2 separate regions of the Homo sapiens genome follow, and region 2 is linked to region 1. Evidence: promoter capture Hi-C in human tissues and cell types (Jung and others, 2019). All regions are on one chromosome and are shown on one strand. Each heading gives the region's core, a stretch centred on a gene start or on the middle of the fragment in contact. The rest is flanking DNA. Distances are from core to core; before and after follow the strand shown.

What was found. Contacts are between HindIII fragments. The study calls those that stand out against the background at their distance.
Region 2: a fragment that was not itself captured here is called in contact with the fragment with the promoter of WDR27 in region 1 in 1 of the 25 tissues and cell types used here (spleen).

The regions. Positions count from the first base shown.
Region 1 is chr6:169,697,732-169,705,367 of GRCh38, forward strand. WDR27 (WD repeat domain 27) reads right to left here and starts at 4,298. Exons shown (of 26, transcript NM_182552.5): 1 at 3,820-4,298. It overlaps C6orf120 (chromosome 6 open reading frame 120), which reads left to right and starts at 4,395. Exons shown (of 1, transcript NM_001029863.3): 1 at 4,395-7,636. The coding sequence starts at 4,729. The coding sequence ends at 5,304. It overlaps PHF10 (PHD finger protein 10), which reads right to left. Exons shown (of 12, transcript NM_018288.4): 11 at 7,402-7,590; 12 at 6,171-6,357. The coding sequence ends at 6,272. RefSeq lists enhancers at 3,852-3,931, 4,252-4,341 and a silencer at 4,392-4,761. The HindIII fragment of the contact is 14,983 bases long and covers 1-7,636 here.
Region 2 is chr6:169,218,335-169,225,970 of GRCh38, forward strand. It overlaps THBS2 (thrombospondin 2), which reads right to left. Exons shown (of 22, transcript NM_003247.5): 17 at 6,811-7,045; 18 at 4,914-5,141; 19 at 3,863-4,134; 20 at 3,096-3,193; 21 at 1,864-2,003. All of the region lies in intron 2 of THBS2-AS1 (THBS2 antisense RNA 1), which reads left to right. LOC124901470 (a long non-coding RNA gene) reads left to right here and starts at 7,017. Exons shown (of 2, transcript XR_007059889.1): 1 at 7,017-7,330; 2 at 7,461-7,620. RefSeq lists an enhancer at 5,699-6,898. The HindIII fragment of the contact is 9,382 bases long and covers 1-7,019 here.

The sequences.
Region 1 (7,636 bases), core at 3,048-5,547:
CCCTGTCCAGTGGACACGTGACCCACATGGCCTTACCTATGGCCACTCTCCTTATCCTGCCCCTTTGTCTTGTATCCAATAAATATCAGTGCAGCCTGGCATTTGGGGCCACTACCGGTCTCCGTGACTTGGTGGTAGTGGTCCCCCGGGCCCAGCTGTCTTTTATCTCTTTGTCTTGTGTCTTTATTTCTACACTCGTCCCCGCGCACGGGGAGAGACCCACTGACCCTGCGGGCTGGTCCCTACAGGCAGAATATGAATGTGCTTGCATTTCCTGATGAGTGCATAGTAAAGAAATAACACCATGACTCACTAGTATGAAGAGTTCACAGAAACAATGGTGTGAAGCCAAGGAGGGAAGGAAGCCTTGTCAGGACACATAAGCCACCTTGACGAGGAAGCACCAGCCTGCACTCAGAATTTCTGGGTCAGTCTGGCCCCAGTGTGCACGAGCTGATGTCCCACCTCTCCAGCTGCCCAACACCTCTGTTCCTCAGTGTTCTCAGCTTCAATGCCTACCTCTGCCTCAGTGTATTCGGCTTCAATGCCTACCTCTGCCTCAGTGTACTCGGCTTTAATGCCTACCTCTCCTGCCTCTCCTGCTCCATGGCAGGGTGGTACAGACAGGGATGAGGGAGGGTCTGGTGCAGGCAGAAACATCGTCAGGGACACACCGACACACACACACACATACACACACGTGTCCACGTCGAGAACATGAGTCCAGGGCAGCTAACTGAAGTGCAACCTATCCTCCCATTGAACAGAGGTCAGATGGCCCCTAAAATCATTTGTGTAAAAAGTTATTTTTCTATATGTTAAAATATTCATTTTTCTATTTCTGTGGTCTGGCAGTTTTCCCCAAGCTCTTTCTGCTTCTTCCCTGGAGCCACTAAGAACATGGCTGGACCACATTTCCAGCCTCTGAAGTCGAGGGCAGCCGTGCACCAATTTCTGGTCTGGAAAGCACACCATGCATGCACAGGCTTGGTCCTGTCACAGCCCGTGCACAGCCCTTCATGCTGGAGGCGGAGGGCTCCAAAGGCTGAGGAGAGGGGCCACGGTGGTGGCACCTGGCAGCCTGTGCTGCTCCCACTAAAGGGTGATCAGGACACCAGGCTGGACTGTTGTGTAAGCAAGAGAGAAACATTTAGTGCATGAAGCTGAGGTCACTTCTGTCAGCCTACCTTGACTGATGTGGGTACCTTGAAGCAGGATGCTTCAGTGACACTGTAGGATGTTGCTGAGTGACTGAGTGATGGGGCACAGAAACAAATTCAGGAGGGGAAAAGCTCAAGACTCACGTTAGGCAGTGACAAACAGGTTCAACTGCAACAACCTGTAATAACGCAGAAAACTTACCACAGGCTTACTCTCCTGCAGCCCTACAGGAAATTATTGCAAAGAATACGCATTAGCAGCCAACACACGGAATTGGACTAGAGAACTGGCTGGTGTGCAAGCGGAATGGACACGAAAAGAAAGTACGAAGAGCAGGGGCTGCAGCACTGGGAAACCTGAGTGCCCTGAGAGGCTGCAGGGAGGGACAAAGGACCATCAGGTCTTGGCCCTTCAGCAAAGATCTGACCTAGGATGGCTACCTTCCCACTCAAGCCTTTGTTCCACATAACCTCAGGGTATCAGCTGCCCAGGAGACCAAAAGAAAATAAAGTCAGGCTTGAACAGTAGACACAGGAAGAACGACAATGGCATCACCAGCACACAGAGCTGACGAGATACACACAGACCAGAAGCTGCTGTGCTCGTGAGGACACGATGAAGCCTAAGAAGTATCAAGCAAAGAACAGAGTAAGGGCACACGGTGGGCTCAGGGCTGACTGCCTGGTCCCCACTGCCATGCTCCAGGAGTGAGCTATGGCAGCCTTCCAAGACAGCATCCTCATAGCCACATCAGATGAGACCGTGGAGGAAAAGGACTAAGGGTAGAATCAAGGGCCTCAGCAAACAAGCCAGGCACAGTGGCTCACATCTGCAATCCCAGCACTTTGTGGGGCCGAGGCAGAAGGATCACTTGAGCCCAGGAGTTCAAGACCAGCCTGGGCAACATAGTGAGACCCTGTCTCTACTTTAAAAAAAAAAAGTAGTCAGGTGTGGCAGTGCATGCTTGTAGCCCCAGCTGCTGGGGAGGCTGAGGTGGGAGGATCGTTTGAGCCACGGAGGTTGAAGCTATAGTGAGCTGTGATTGTGCCACTCTACTTCAACCTGGACAACAGTGACATCCTGTCTCAAAGGAAAGAAAAAGAACAATGGACAAGGGAATTCCTCCCAGATAGCAGAATCAGGGTCTAGTTGGGAAATTCCTCCCACCTCCACCCCAGCATCACTTCAAAACTGCTATAGACCAGTGTCTGCCATGTGTCTCCCTTTTCCAAAAGGGAGATGGTTACAAAAACCATGGTCATATTTAACCACTGCATTTTAGTGGGGAGAGCAACTAGTTTGTCTTCTTAGTCCATAGGGCTCTGGACCACGAGGAACCACAGCCAGGCCTGATGGAGAGAACTGTGCAATCCTGAGAAATGTTCTGTGTTGCACTAGGCACCTTGACAAAGTGTCCCCCTTGGGGTGGGGAGAGTGTGTTCTCCATGTGGGATCAAGAGTGGAGCAGAGATCTGGTCACCAGAAGAGAGACTACGGTAAGTGCTGTTCCTTTTCCACTAAGCCACTTCCCTTTCCTTCTAGACACAGAACTAAACTACACTCCCTAGCTTCCCTTGCAATTAAGTGCAGCCATGTAGTCGTTGAGTGCCTGGCCCATAAATTCCTCCTGCACTGCCTCTCTTCTTTCCCCACCCACTGGCTAAATGCGGAGAATTCAGAGGGCCTAAGGAAAAAAACCACAACATGGAAGAATTTTAGGCTGCAGCTTGCAGAGAGCTGCCCAAAGGAATCGTCTGACTAGAAACCGCTACACAGGACTGTGTGAGCAAGAAACATGCAACTGTTCTATTGGGGTGAATTGCTACAGCACTTAACCTACCTCCACTAATATAAATTGTTTAACATTTTTTTGAATTACAAAAGCAATACAATACAAAACATTTAAACAATGCAGAAATAATAAAGTTTTTTATCCCTACCTCCTCTCCCTGCTGTGCCAACCCTAGGGGATAATCAATGTCACAGGATATCCCCAGGAATATCCATGTACATACATGCACAGAACAAGTCAGGGAAAATAAACTAAATTTATTATTTTAGTGAGATTCTAGTGCACCTAACACTAGGTAAGCACTTCAGGAAAAGGCAGTGACAAGTGATTGCTAAAGATACCATAGTCTTAAAGTTAAGTCAGTAAACACAAGATAGTAATCCCAGATAAACTGGAAGCTGTAGAGTTAATACTCCTTTACTGGTACAGAGCAGTGTGTGTAAATTGTAGAAAATTTAGAAATACATAAAAAGATGAAAACTCTACTACTCGAGGAGTACCACTGATAAAATCCTGTGCATTTCCGTTTTTTTAATGTACATACGAATATTTTTAAAAAGAGAAAATTACTCCCTTCTGATTAGAAAAGATCGAAATTTTTCTCTTTTAGTGATAATCAAGTCAGAAACTTGCTGTTTGGCTCGAGTTAGGAAAACCTAGCCTGGTAGTTACCACGCAGGTTGAAAGGCCAGTGGGGCATAATTAACGAGCCCTCAGGGTCCACGCTCCCGCCCTCGGAGCTCAGAACCGACGGGAGGTGCAGGAGGCCGGGCATTTCTACAGCCCTGGTTCGTTCCTAAACTACTGAATCTTTTAAAGAGATCTGAGTGCTCCTTATACACAGCTGCTTTAATTAAAATAACCACCTGAGCCCTTTTCCTCCGAACTCCACATGCGCTCAGTTCTCAAAGCGCCGATCTCAAGCGGCCGCCCGGATGCTCCGGCCCGACTTGTGCCCCGAATTCCCCTGGAGACCCTCGCACTAGCACGGCGTCAGGAGGAGGCTTCGGGTGACGAGACAGCGGGCAACGGCTCTGGTCCAGAGCGCGCGTGTCCGCCGTTGGAAGCGGTCACGGCGGAACCCTCAAATCGCCCCCTTTCCTAGAGACCTCAGCGGAGCCGCGAGCAACCGCGCAGCCCCCGCGCTCCAGCCCTGCGCCCTAGGCACACGCCCCAGAGCAGCAGCTCGGGTTCGGCGCCGACTCCGCGCCGAGACCAGCCCGCTAGGGGAGGACTCACAGCACCCAGCTCCCAGGAGGGCACGCAGAGGACTACCGAGCCACACTCCGCCCCACGCTCGCCGCTATGGTTACTTGCCAGCCGACCCACGCGAGCCGCTATGGTTACTAGCCCGCCGCCCCTCGCGCCCACGCCCCTTTCGCTATCTCGCGACAGCTGGAGAAGCCTCGCTTCCGGCCGGCTCACTTACGGACCTAGCGTCACTTCCGCCTCCGGCGAGGCTCCGGCCTCGGGTCCGGATGTATAAAGCGCGGCCCCCTGCGGGGAGTGGTGGTGAGTCCGAGGGTGCCACAGCGGCCCTGCCCCTGCCCCTGCCCCTGCCCTGAGTGGGCGCCGCGCTACGGGGGAGGGGTTAACCCACCCCTCCTCCCCGGGGCCTCACGCGGGTGGGAAGGGACAGTCCCAGCGACAGACCAGGCGCCTGGACGCGCCGTGGACCCGCGTGCGGACGGCGGGGACAGGCTCCGGTGCTGAGCGCCTCCGGTGTCCCCAGCAGCACTGACCCACTTGCAGGCCCCGGAGCTGAGCCGCCAGCCATGGCCGCTCCCCGCGGGAGGGCCGCGCCCTGGACGACGGCCCTGCTGCTGCTCCTAGCCTCGCAGGTCCTGTCTCCGGGAAGCTGCGCGGACGAGGAGGAGGTCCCCGAGGAGTGGGTGCTCCTGCACGTCGTCCAGGGCCAGATAGGCGCCGGGAACTACAGCTACCTGCGGCTGAACCACGAGGGCAAGATAGTCCTCAGGATGCGCAGCCTCAAGGGAGATGCGGATCTGTACGTCTCCGCCAGCAGCCTGCACCCCAGCTTCGACGACTACGAGCTGCAATCGGCCACCTGCGGCCCGGACGCCGTGTCCATCCCCGCGCACTTCCGGCGCCCAGTGGGCATCGGCGTCTATGGACACCCCTCCCACCTGGAGAGCGAGTTCGAGATGAAGGTGTACTACGACGGCACGGTCGAGCAGCACCCGTTCGGCGAGGCCGCCTACCCCGCCGACGGCGCAGATGCCGGCCAGAAGCACGCTGGTGCCCCGGAAGACGCCTCGCAAGAGGAGGAATCTGTTCTCTGGACGATATTAATTAGCATTTTGAAACTGGTACTTGAAATTCTCTTTTGAGTCGTTGACCACACTCTGGGATATAAAACCCTCCATCTGTGAAGCTGATTGCAGTTTGCTGTGAACCTTGCTACTTGTACTTGGTTGAAGTTCTAGGTACCTTTAGTCAAGGGATGGAAAAATAAAGCCATACGCAGTTTTGTTACCTCAGTTACCCCAAAAATAGGAAAAGCAGCAAGCACAGTATTTTAAAGATCATAATTCCTATAAAAGGACTGTGCACAAAGTGTTTAGACTCCATTTTCATTAGGCAGGTTGACTAAAAATGATTGCAGTAACAGGTTTATATAAAATAGAGCAACCTTTCATGCTGTGACACAAATCAAAAGGTTGATAACTTTGTAATTTTACTCTGGAGATTCTAACCGAAGTTGGTGTAAGTTTTCAAGAGTTACTAAAATCAAGTTGGAAATGATTTACGTACACTTCCCTGAGCCTGGACTAAAGCCTCATGCCTGTACCCCAAGTAGGTGATGGTACTTTTCTATACAAAAAGGATTTCCTGGCAGGCAGGTATTTACAAAGTTTGTTCCTGTACCAGTCCAATAATGACAACTCTAAATCCAGCTGCACCAAATCTTAGTGGGCCATTTGTCATACCTATGAAAATTCTTCAGTTATTAAATAACTTTGTCAGTGCTACCTATGGTAGGCCGGAAACAATGTAGATTAGGAAGTTTCATGAAAATTAACTTTTGGGGCTATGGAGAAACAGTTAAGTATCTTAAGTTACTAAACATTTCCACTGAATTTTTGGAGTGAGCCAAGGTTACTATAAAATACTTTGGAAGATGAATTCTCTACCTGGAGTTAGTTTCGAGAGTAAGCGTAGCTTTTAACAGAAATAACTGCAGATTTTAAGCTCATAATTTGCAAAAAAAATCTTTTATTGGCATGAAAATAATGTTGTAAATGGCACCAAATATTCCACTTAAATGCATATACAGTATTAGAGTCAAAAACTATTTTATCCCTCTTTGCTGTTTTTCCCCCTTCTGCCCACTTTCCTGGGTGTTGGGGGGGCCCGCTGACAACAGTCACAAATCCAGCGACCTAGGAAAAAAATTGTTAATATAGAATGAAAAATTATCTTTACAGGACTGAATTTTAAGCCCATCTAAACTCTTCTGCCTTAGCTATCACTAATGATATTCCTCTCTGGATTTTGTGGTGAGAAGGGCACTATGAGTTCCTTAATTTAAGGAAAAAATGTAAACTTAATCAATGTAATCAATGCCATGCAAAATTCATTGCAAGTCAAGGGGGATGGGAGAGATGCAATGCCATACGGTGATACGGACCTTTAAGAAAGTACAATCTTTCCTGAAATTCAAACACTATCATACTTCAAAAGGTCAAAACCCATTCCGGAATTTGGCTTTTTTAAGACTTTTTCTCTCCTGCTCACTGGCAGCTGTGTGTCTTAACAGCATTCTTTCAAGTCCTGGTGTACTCTGCTGACAGCACTTTAAAACTTTAACAGCACAATGATAACTTGTACTACATACTTGATCTGAATTACTACAGAAAAATAATTATGTTGCTTGCTTAATGATTCCCAGGAAACTTCGTTGTAGGCATATATTTTATAAGAGTATTATACAGTGTTAACTATGCAAGTAAGTTCTAAAATTACACAATTATCTGTGTAATGTTTTAGTCCAATTACTGTGATTTATTCAACTCTGTTCTAAAGTTATCTGGAATTGTCATGCTGCCTCAATTTACAGAAATCTATAATAGATTTCTATAGAAATGTATAAAGACGTAGCAGTCATTTTGTTGTTTCTAAATAGATAACATATAAAAATAAAGGCTTTGTTACTTTAGTATTTCAGTAGAAAAACACCAGCTCATTCTATAGAACTATACTTCCAAAACTTAGCAGGGGCATTCTGGCCTTTCACTTATCCTTTAGTTGGAATTGTCTAGGGATGAAAAGCTGGTGGACATGACCTGTATAATCACAGCTTTGGTCATATTTGCACATAAGAGTCCACAAGCTCTTCATGTCATGATAGCGTTTATGCAGCCTTTTGGAGTGCTGGGAGAGTCTCATCACCCAAAGATAATGTTTGCTCTTTTTTTAATCTTTACCTGATGGAATAGCACCAAGGCCCACACAAAAAGTATGATAACCTCTGTCACACATATCACAGAACATCATTTCTTCTTCATGGTGGGGTTGTCCACATATAATGCATGTTTTACATTCCATACACTGCCATGGGTAGGTCTTAATCATAGAAACAAGCTCCATTGTCATATCCAGGCAAGAAGGATGGCCTAAATCAAAACCAGTATTAGTGGTATCTCACATAAGAAATTTTAA
Region 2 (7,636 bases), core at 1,079-3,578, 480 kb before region 1:
GATGAATGGGTGGATGAGATGAATTGATGGATGGATGGATGAATGAGATAGGTGGGTTGGTGGAGATGGATGGGTGGGTGGATGGATGAGATGGATGAGTGGGTGGGTGGGTGGCTGAGATGGATGGATGGGATAGATGAGTGGGGGTGGATGAAATGGATGGGTGGATGGATGGATGGATGAGATGGATGGGTGGGTGGGTGGATGGACTAGATGGATAGGTGGATGGGGCTGGGTGGATGGATGGATGAGATGGGTGGGTGTGTGGGTGGGTGGATGGATGAATGGATGGATGGATGAGATGGATGGTTGGGTGAATGGATGAGATGGATGGGCGGATGAGTAGATGGATGGATGGGATGGATGGATGGATGAGACAGGTGGATGGATGGATGAGATAGGTGGGTGGATGAGATGGATGGATGGGTGGGTGGGTGGATGGAGGGATGAGTGGGTTGGTGGATGAGATGGATGAGTGCATGGGTGGGTGGCTGAGATGGATGGATGGATGGATAAGATGGATGGATAAGTGCTGGGTGGATGGATGGATGATGAGTGGGTGGGTAAGTGGATGAGATGAGTGGATGGATGGATGAGTAGGTGGGTGGATGAGATGAGTGGATGGATGGATGAGTAGGTGGGTGGATGAGTGGATGGATGGATGAGTAGGTGGGTGGATGAGATGAGTGGATGGATGGATGAGTAGGTGGGTGGATGAGATGGATGGATGGATGGATGAGATGGATGTATTGATAGGTGGATGGATGGATGGATGAGTAGGTAGGTGAGTGGATGAGATGAATGGATGGATGGGATAGATGAGTGAGTGGGGGTGAATGAAATGGTTGGGTGGATGTGTGGGTGGATGGATGGATGAAATGGATGAGTGGGTGGGTGGGTGGATGGATTAGATGGATAGGTGGATGGGTGGGTGGATGGATGGATGGATGAGATAGTTGGGTGGATGGGTGGTTGGATGGATGAGATGGGTGGGTGTGTGGGTGGGTGGATGGATGGATGGTTGGGTGAATGGATGAGATGGGTGGATGAATGGATGGATGGATGGGTGGATGGATGAGATATATGGGTGGGTGGATGAATGATATGGATGGATGGGAGGAAATGAGATGCCTTGAAAGACATCCTAACATAAGGAGAAGAAAACCTCCACAGAAGCAAGCAGATAAATCAACCCCAACAGGGTTTTGCCCTGTTGGCCAGGCTGGTCTCGAACTCCTGACCTCAGGGGATCCACCCGCCTTGGCCTCCCAAAGGGCTAGGATTACAGGCATGAGCCACTGCCCCCAGCCAAACACATGATTTTCAATGTGTGATTCTTGAGAAGCATCCTGAGCCTTATTTACTGCATCTGTGGAAGGGTAATGCGCATTTGAAGGCATGGAATTAGAGCAGATGGAATTCAAGTTATCTTCCAGGTCTATAATATTTTGATTCAAATATACCTGTAGCGAGATAACTATAGAGAAACTCCTTCCTTCCTTCTTTCCTTCCTGCCTGCCTGCCATTGCTAATGCAAGGGTACCAATCTAAAATGGCGTCAGGAGCCTGGAAGTGGAGGAAATCTAGGAAACTCTAGGCTATGGCACAATGAGGATGGGTGGGACCTGTAAATAATTGGAAAGTGTTCTACCAGAGGCATCCAAATGCAATTAAAAACAAAACAATCCAAGCTGACCAAATGAAATGGCTGCTTGGAATGTGCAGGGGGCTCATGTGTGGTATTGTGCATTAGGTTTATTGCCCTGATGTACAGCTTTTGTAAGTGGAAGAGCGCACTGTGTACCCCTTTCCCTTTCTGGGTGCCACATGCCTTCCCCACTAACCTGAAGTGCTCACACTCACCTCTGCATTCGTACTTGAGGTCTGAGAAATAGACCATTTCTTGAGAGAAGACAAATAGACCCAGCCGCCCGCCAGCGTAGGTTTGGTCATAGATAGGTCCTGAGTCTGCCATGACCTGTTTTCCTTCATGCACTAAGACTCTAAAAATGGTGTTTAAAAAGAAGAAGAGGAAAGAAAGACAACATGAACTCTGTGAAGCATTCACCAGTGATGGAAGGTTGGCTCCGGACACAAGCTGTGGATACTCCGCCCAGGGCTTCAGTGCCCCAGGGGGCATTGCTGGCTTTCTCCTTTGGAGCTCCAGCCACCCCTGGTGCAGCACTGATCCAGGGCACGCCTTCCTTCTTGCAACCACACTATTGTCACAATCTGTGAGTTCACTTACAGTCACCCAGGCAAGGGCTTTAGAGGAGACTCTACCTTTGGTGGGGTGAGGAGGAAGCTTCCCACTTCCTGGGAAGATGCACCGGACTCTCCCTACTTCACCTTGTGCTAAAACCATGAGCTCACCGGCTCTCCTCCCCACTGTGGAAGCTGCGTGGGAGCAGGACTGGATACACCAAGCCCCCGACAGGAGGATGGGGCATCAATATGAATAAACAGGAGGCCCCCTAGGGAAACGTTCCAGCGAGGCCACGAGCCTGCACTTCACCCACACAGATCTGCCCTCTATTGCCAGGGACTCACACACTCCTGGCATCTGTGCAGAGTCCAGCCTGATCTTGGTGCTTATTAACTTTGAAAAAACAAAAACACCTTGATTTTAAATTGACCACATTTTGTTTGAATAAAAATCAATTATAAATACTGTTAAGCCAAGGGAAAAGATTCTGTTGGGCTAACTGTGTCAAAACTTCATACAACCGTGTTTTAAATTCAGCCATTTATATCAGGTACAAATCTAGTCTCCAATAAAGCACATGCTAATTCTGCAAAGATGCAGTTATTTTAATTGCAGGTGTTCTCCCCTGCCTGGGGTATTCATTAGGAGAAAATATGGTTATCATCCCAAAACAAAGCAGATTGTATATTCTCCTTTTCAACCATTTTTTAAAAATACTTAATATTTAGTAGAGATGCAGGATAGAAAAGAGAAAGCAGTTAATGACGAAGAATCCAGAGTAAAACAAAAAGTTAGAATTCACTTGAGCTTATTTGTCTATTAATGTTCAAATGTGCCGTCCGATGGGAAGCCCCTTGGAAGAAATGCAGCTGTGCTGACCTGCCCTCACCTGATGTAGCCAGTCTTGGGCCTGTGAGTCAGGTGCCACCTATAGGCCGTGTAGTCCTTCCAGCCAATGTTCCTGGGGTCGTGCCATAAGGTTCGCACCTGAGAGAGAACATAGCACTCTTGAGTGCCATGGGCACCCGGAGCCTTAACCACAGCTCTGTAACACCAAGCAGGAAGCAAAAACATGACTTTGCAAGTTCATGCTTAAGGCTCATGGTGCTCCATATCTCTCTGATGTGTTTATCATCCAAATCTCTACTGTGGATTGAAGCCCATGGACAGAGTGTGGCTCAGGGCTGAGAGCCAAGGCACCTGACCCTCAGATTCCTGGATTGAAGAGCCCAGGCACCTGATCCTCAGATTCCTGGGTTCATGTCTGGATCTTCTCTTTCCTTGATATGGGATGTTGGGCAAAATTCTTGAAGTTTTGATATTCAATTCTCCCTAGCTTCAATTTTTAAAATATTTTTTTCATATTATATCTTTGATCATTATGTCCTATGCTCACTCCCTATCTCCAGAAGAGGGTAAAAGAGGTTTAATTTGTAAAAGGATTAGCAACTGTATTTAACTGGTAATTATCAACTGTGTTGAGTTGTAACCCCAGGCACAGTGTCTATAATAAAGTAAGATTATTAAAATAACTGTGCCTGGAGTTAAAATTAATAAAGACAAAAGTGGGGTCTCTGGACTGGGCTAGTCCTGCTGAAACACTCTGCAGCCACAGTGGTGCAGAGGAGATGTGTGGGCCTGGCCAGCCAACCTCACCTGCCCCGGCGTGTTCCCCGTGTGCCACAGCGCGTTCCTCAGGTGCTCGCCCGTCCCCGTGGTGGAGTTCACCACCTTGAGGGACACGCCGGAGTAGCCATAGGCCCGCGTGGGCTGGTCCTCCCAGTAGGTCTGCGTCACCTGCTTCCACATCACCACATAGAAGCGGCTGCTTGACTGGTAACCAAAGACGAAGCCGGCATAGTCGTCGTCCCGGTCAGTGTTTACGTAGAATGTGCCACTGAAGTCCACAGACCCAAACTCGTCAAAACCTGGATGCAACGCCATAAGGTTTCGTTAGAAACACCTTTCAGGTGGCCGGGAGTAGTGACTCATGCCTGTAATCCCAGCACTTTGAGAGGCCGAGGTGGGCAGATCACCTGAGGTCAAGAGTTCGAGACTGGTCTGACCAATATGGTGAAACCTTGTCTCTACTAAAAATGCAAAAATTAGCCGGGCATGGTGGTGGGTACCTGTAATCCCAGCTACTCAGGAGGCTGAGGCAGGAGAATCACTTGAACCGGGGAAAAAAGGTTGCAGTGAACTGAGATTGTACCACTATACTCCAGCCTGGGGGACAAGAGCAAGACTCCATCTCAAAAAAAAAAAAAGAAAAAAAAGAAAAAAAAAAGAAACAGGTTTCAGGCAATCCCCAGCTTGGCCCTGTGACCATCTGACAGTGGATGCCCAGCAGGCAGGGCGGGCTCCCCTCATCATCCCGATGGGCTCTTTTACCATGAGATTAGTGGAATTGAAGGTATTTCTTTTAGATCCAACTTACAAGAGTTCTGAGAGGATTATGAGGTCCCATTTCATAGACCAAGTCTATAAAATAAAATGGTTTACTGAAATTTCAGAGACTTCAGAGCGGCAGGTGCATGTACCTGTCAAGGTTATTTAGGCAGACAGTTTCACAGACCATGGAAGGATGGGGGCTTCCAGAAAGACCACATGGCATCCCACCTGCATGATCTTAAAGTGCAGTCTGCATCTTCTGTGGGCGCCTCCCCCGGAGAAATGCTGGCACCACCGCCGTGTCTCAGAGACTCACCTACAGCGATGCCGGGGTCCGAGTTGGCTGTCTGAACCAGCTCCTTGCCTTGATGGCGAATGACCCAGTTGGGATCAATTTGGGTGGTCCCTTTGGGATCCAAGGGGACCATCTGGAAGTTCCTGAAGTCTGTCTCACTGATGGCATTGTTTTCAGGACACACATCATCAATATCTGGGATGTTGTCATTGTCAAAATCATCTTTACAAATATCACCCCGTCCATCACCTATGCACAAAGAACAAGCAAAAACAAAAACAAAAACAAAGAAGCAAAGTCGGTGGTCGGTGGTTTGCCATTTGCTTTTCCGTGTCTGAGAAACATGAGTGCATCTTTCCCAGAACATCTAAGACTGAGTGCTTTGCAGTGTTTTGTGGATTCGTGCTCAACAATCTCCAAAACATTTGACTTCACAGGAACCTCAACTCTTTTCACAAAATTTTTGTGATAAATACACAGCAAAGGCCAGCACAGCAAATTCACATAAAGCCATTTCTCACCGTGTTCCAAACTCAATGCTGCAGGTATAAAACCTGAATGGCTGTCAAGTAATATCAACCTGCATTTCCAGCTTTGTGTTTGGATAGTTTTCTGAATGTCTGTTATTACTTTTCTTAGTCATCCTTGCCTTTTATAGTCTATTTGGCATTAAAGCGGAACTCACACTAAAATGGTTTTTCCTAGGGAGACATGGACTTCCGCTGTTTAGTGGGTCCTTGTCAAGTTTTCAGCGGGGTTGTGGCATGGTGGGGAGTGGGGATGAGGTGGGCCTGGTGCAAACAGGGGGACCACGAATTTGCCACATGTGTCCAGTCTATCAGTCTACGGCGATGACGATAACCTGACAGGCAGATTGCAATGTACTGAATTAGCTATCACGTGGCCTGCCGTTTTGGAGGAAAGGCAAGTTGGATTGAATATCTCATCATATTCTTCAACTAGTTTCCGTTCTGTTCAAGAACATACTCCAGCTACCACGTGGCAGGCACATAGTTGGTATCAGGGCATTCTGAAATGCTGAAATGCTGCTCTGCCTATCAGCTTCTCTCTGTCCCAGTCCCTCCCTGGGGAAAGGCTGCATGGGGAGCAAGCCCCTGCATGCCCGAACACGGAGTCCAGATGAGGCTTGCTGTGCTCACTCCATCCCTTCATGCTGCTCGGGGAGAACACAGGAGCTGCCCTTCTGATCCCAGCATCTCCCACGTACTTCTGAGTCATGCTGTCTCAGATGCCCCTCAAGTCCTTATCTCCCTCTGTCAAGGACGTGGCTTCCAAAGAGAGCCTGTGTCAGCCAGGCCCCACTCCAAGTGAGGGCCACTTTCTCACAGCCTCCCCGGAAGCCCCAGAGCACAGCTGTGCCCTTGTTTATTACTCAGGGACGCTGACTTAGAGGACTGCAGCCCATCCAGCTCCTTCCTTGGGCCCCCGTGGCTATGGGCCACCTATTCATGCTCACTGCTGAGCAAAGCAGCTCTTCCTCTCATGCTTCACACTCGTGCCACTTTTGTTGGCTTTGCTTTCAAAAAAATCCTCCTTGTCCCCTGCCTGGCCCCATACACCAAATTCCCAATTCATCCTACGTTCGTAACCCGCATTCTTTCTAGGAGATCGTCAACAATCTGGAAGTTATATGGAGGCAGGGATTTCTCCTCCTCCCGACGTGCACACACACTTGAGGCAGCACACCTGTTGAAGGGCACACACACAGCCAAGAATGTGTTGAGTGTCAGGGGAGAAGAAACTCATATTGCATGGACCCACAGCTTTAAGAGGCCCAAAGTCATTGCCCTTTTTCCAGCAGCAGATTTAAGATGATCTCCGTGCATACATATCTCTGCCCTGGCGGGTTGCTCAGAAGCCATTTTCCTCCACGCCCATGAGCTGAGAGAGCACCCACCGTCCAAGTCCTCCTGGTCTGGGTTGAACACAAGCCGGCAGTTGTCCCTGTCATCGGGGACGCCATCGTTGTCATCATCAGGGTCACAGGCGTCGCCCTGGCCGTCTCTGTCATGGTCAGCCTGGTTGGCGTTGGAGATGTAGGGGCAGTTGTCCTGGTTGTTCTGGTGGCCGTCGTCATCTATGTCCTCGTTGTTGTCACACTGGTCCCCAACAAGGTCATTGTCCACGTCGGTCTAGGGGATGGGGCGTGAGAGAAACAGCAGAGGACTGCCAGTTTGAGGAGGTGGAGAGGAACCAGCAGGACGCAAGCCTGAGAGCCGGCCTCCTCGTCCTGCAGCACAAGCCCCAGGGCCACGCAGGGGCGGCTGGCCCGAGGTCACACTGACCCTGACGTCAGGACAAGCACTGGGGCCAGGCCTCTCGGTCCAGGAATCTCTCCACCCTCTGCCACCTCTCCACAGTAATTCACTTCACTAAAGGAAGATGTGCTTCTTCGCTGGAAAAGCATGAACTACCAGGTAATTATGTCTCTTTTTTACACCATTTGCGCCATTTACACCATTTACATCATAGGATAATATATCCTATGAGCTGCATCAAGATAACTGTCCTCCCTTGTCTCTTTCAAACGCAAACCTGGAAATGAAGCCAATTCCTATGTTGGCATCAGGAAAATGGGGAGAGAATTCTGTGAAGACACAACCTCGCTCCAGCTGATGAGGTGAAGGCGTCTATTCATTTGGCCTGTGGCCACTGAGATACAAGAATAGTGCTGAGATTTGAGTTGAATAAATGTTTTCAATTGAAATCATTGAAAACTCCAT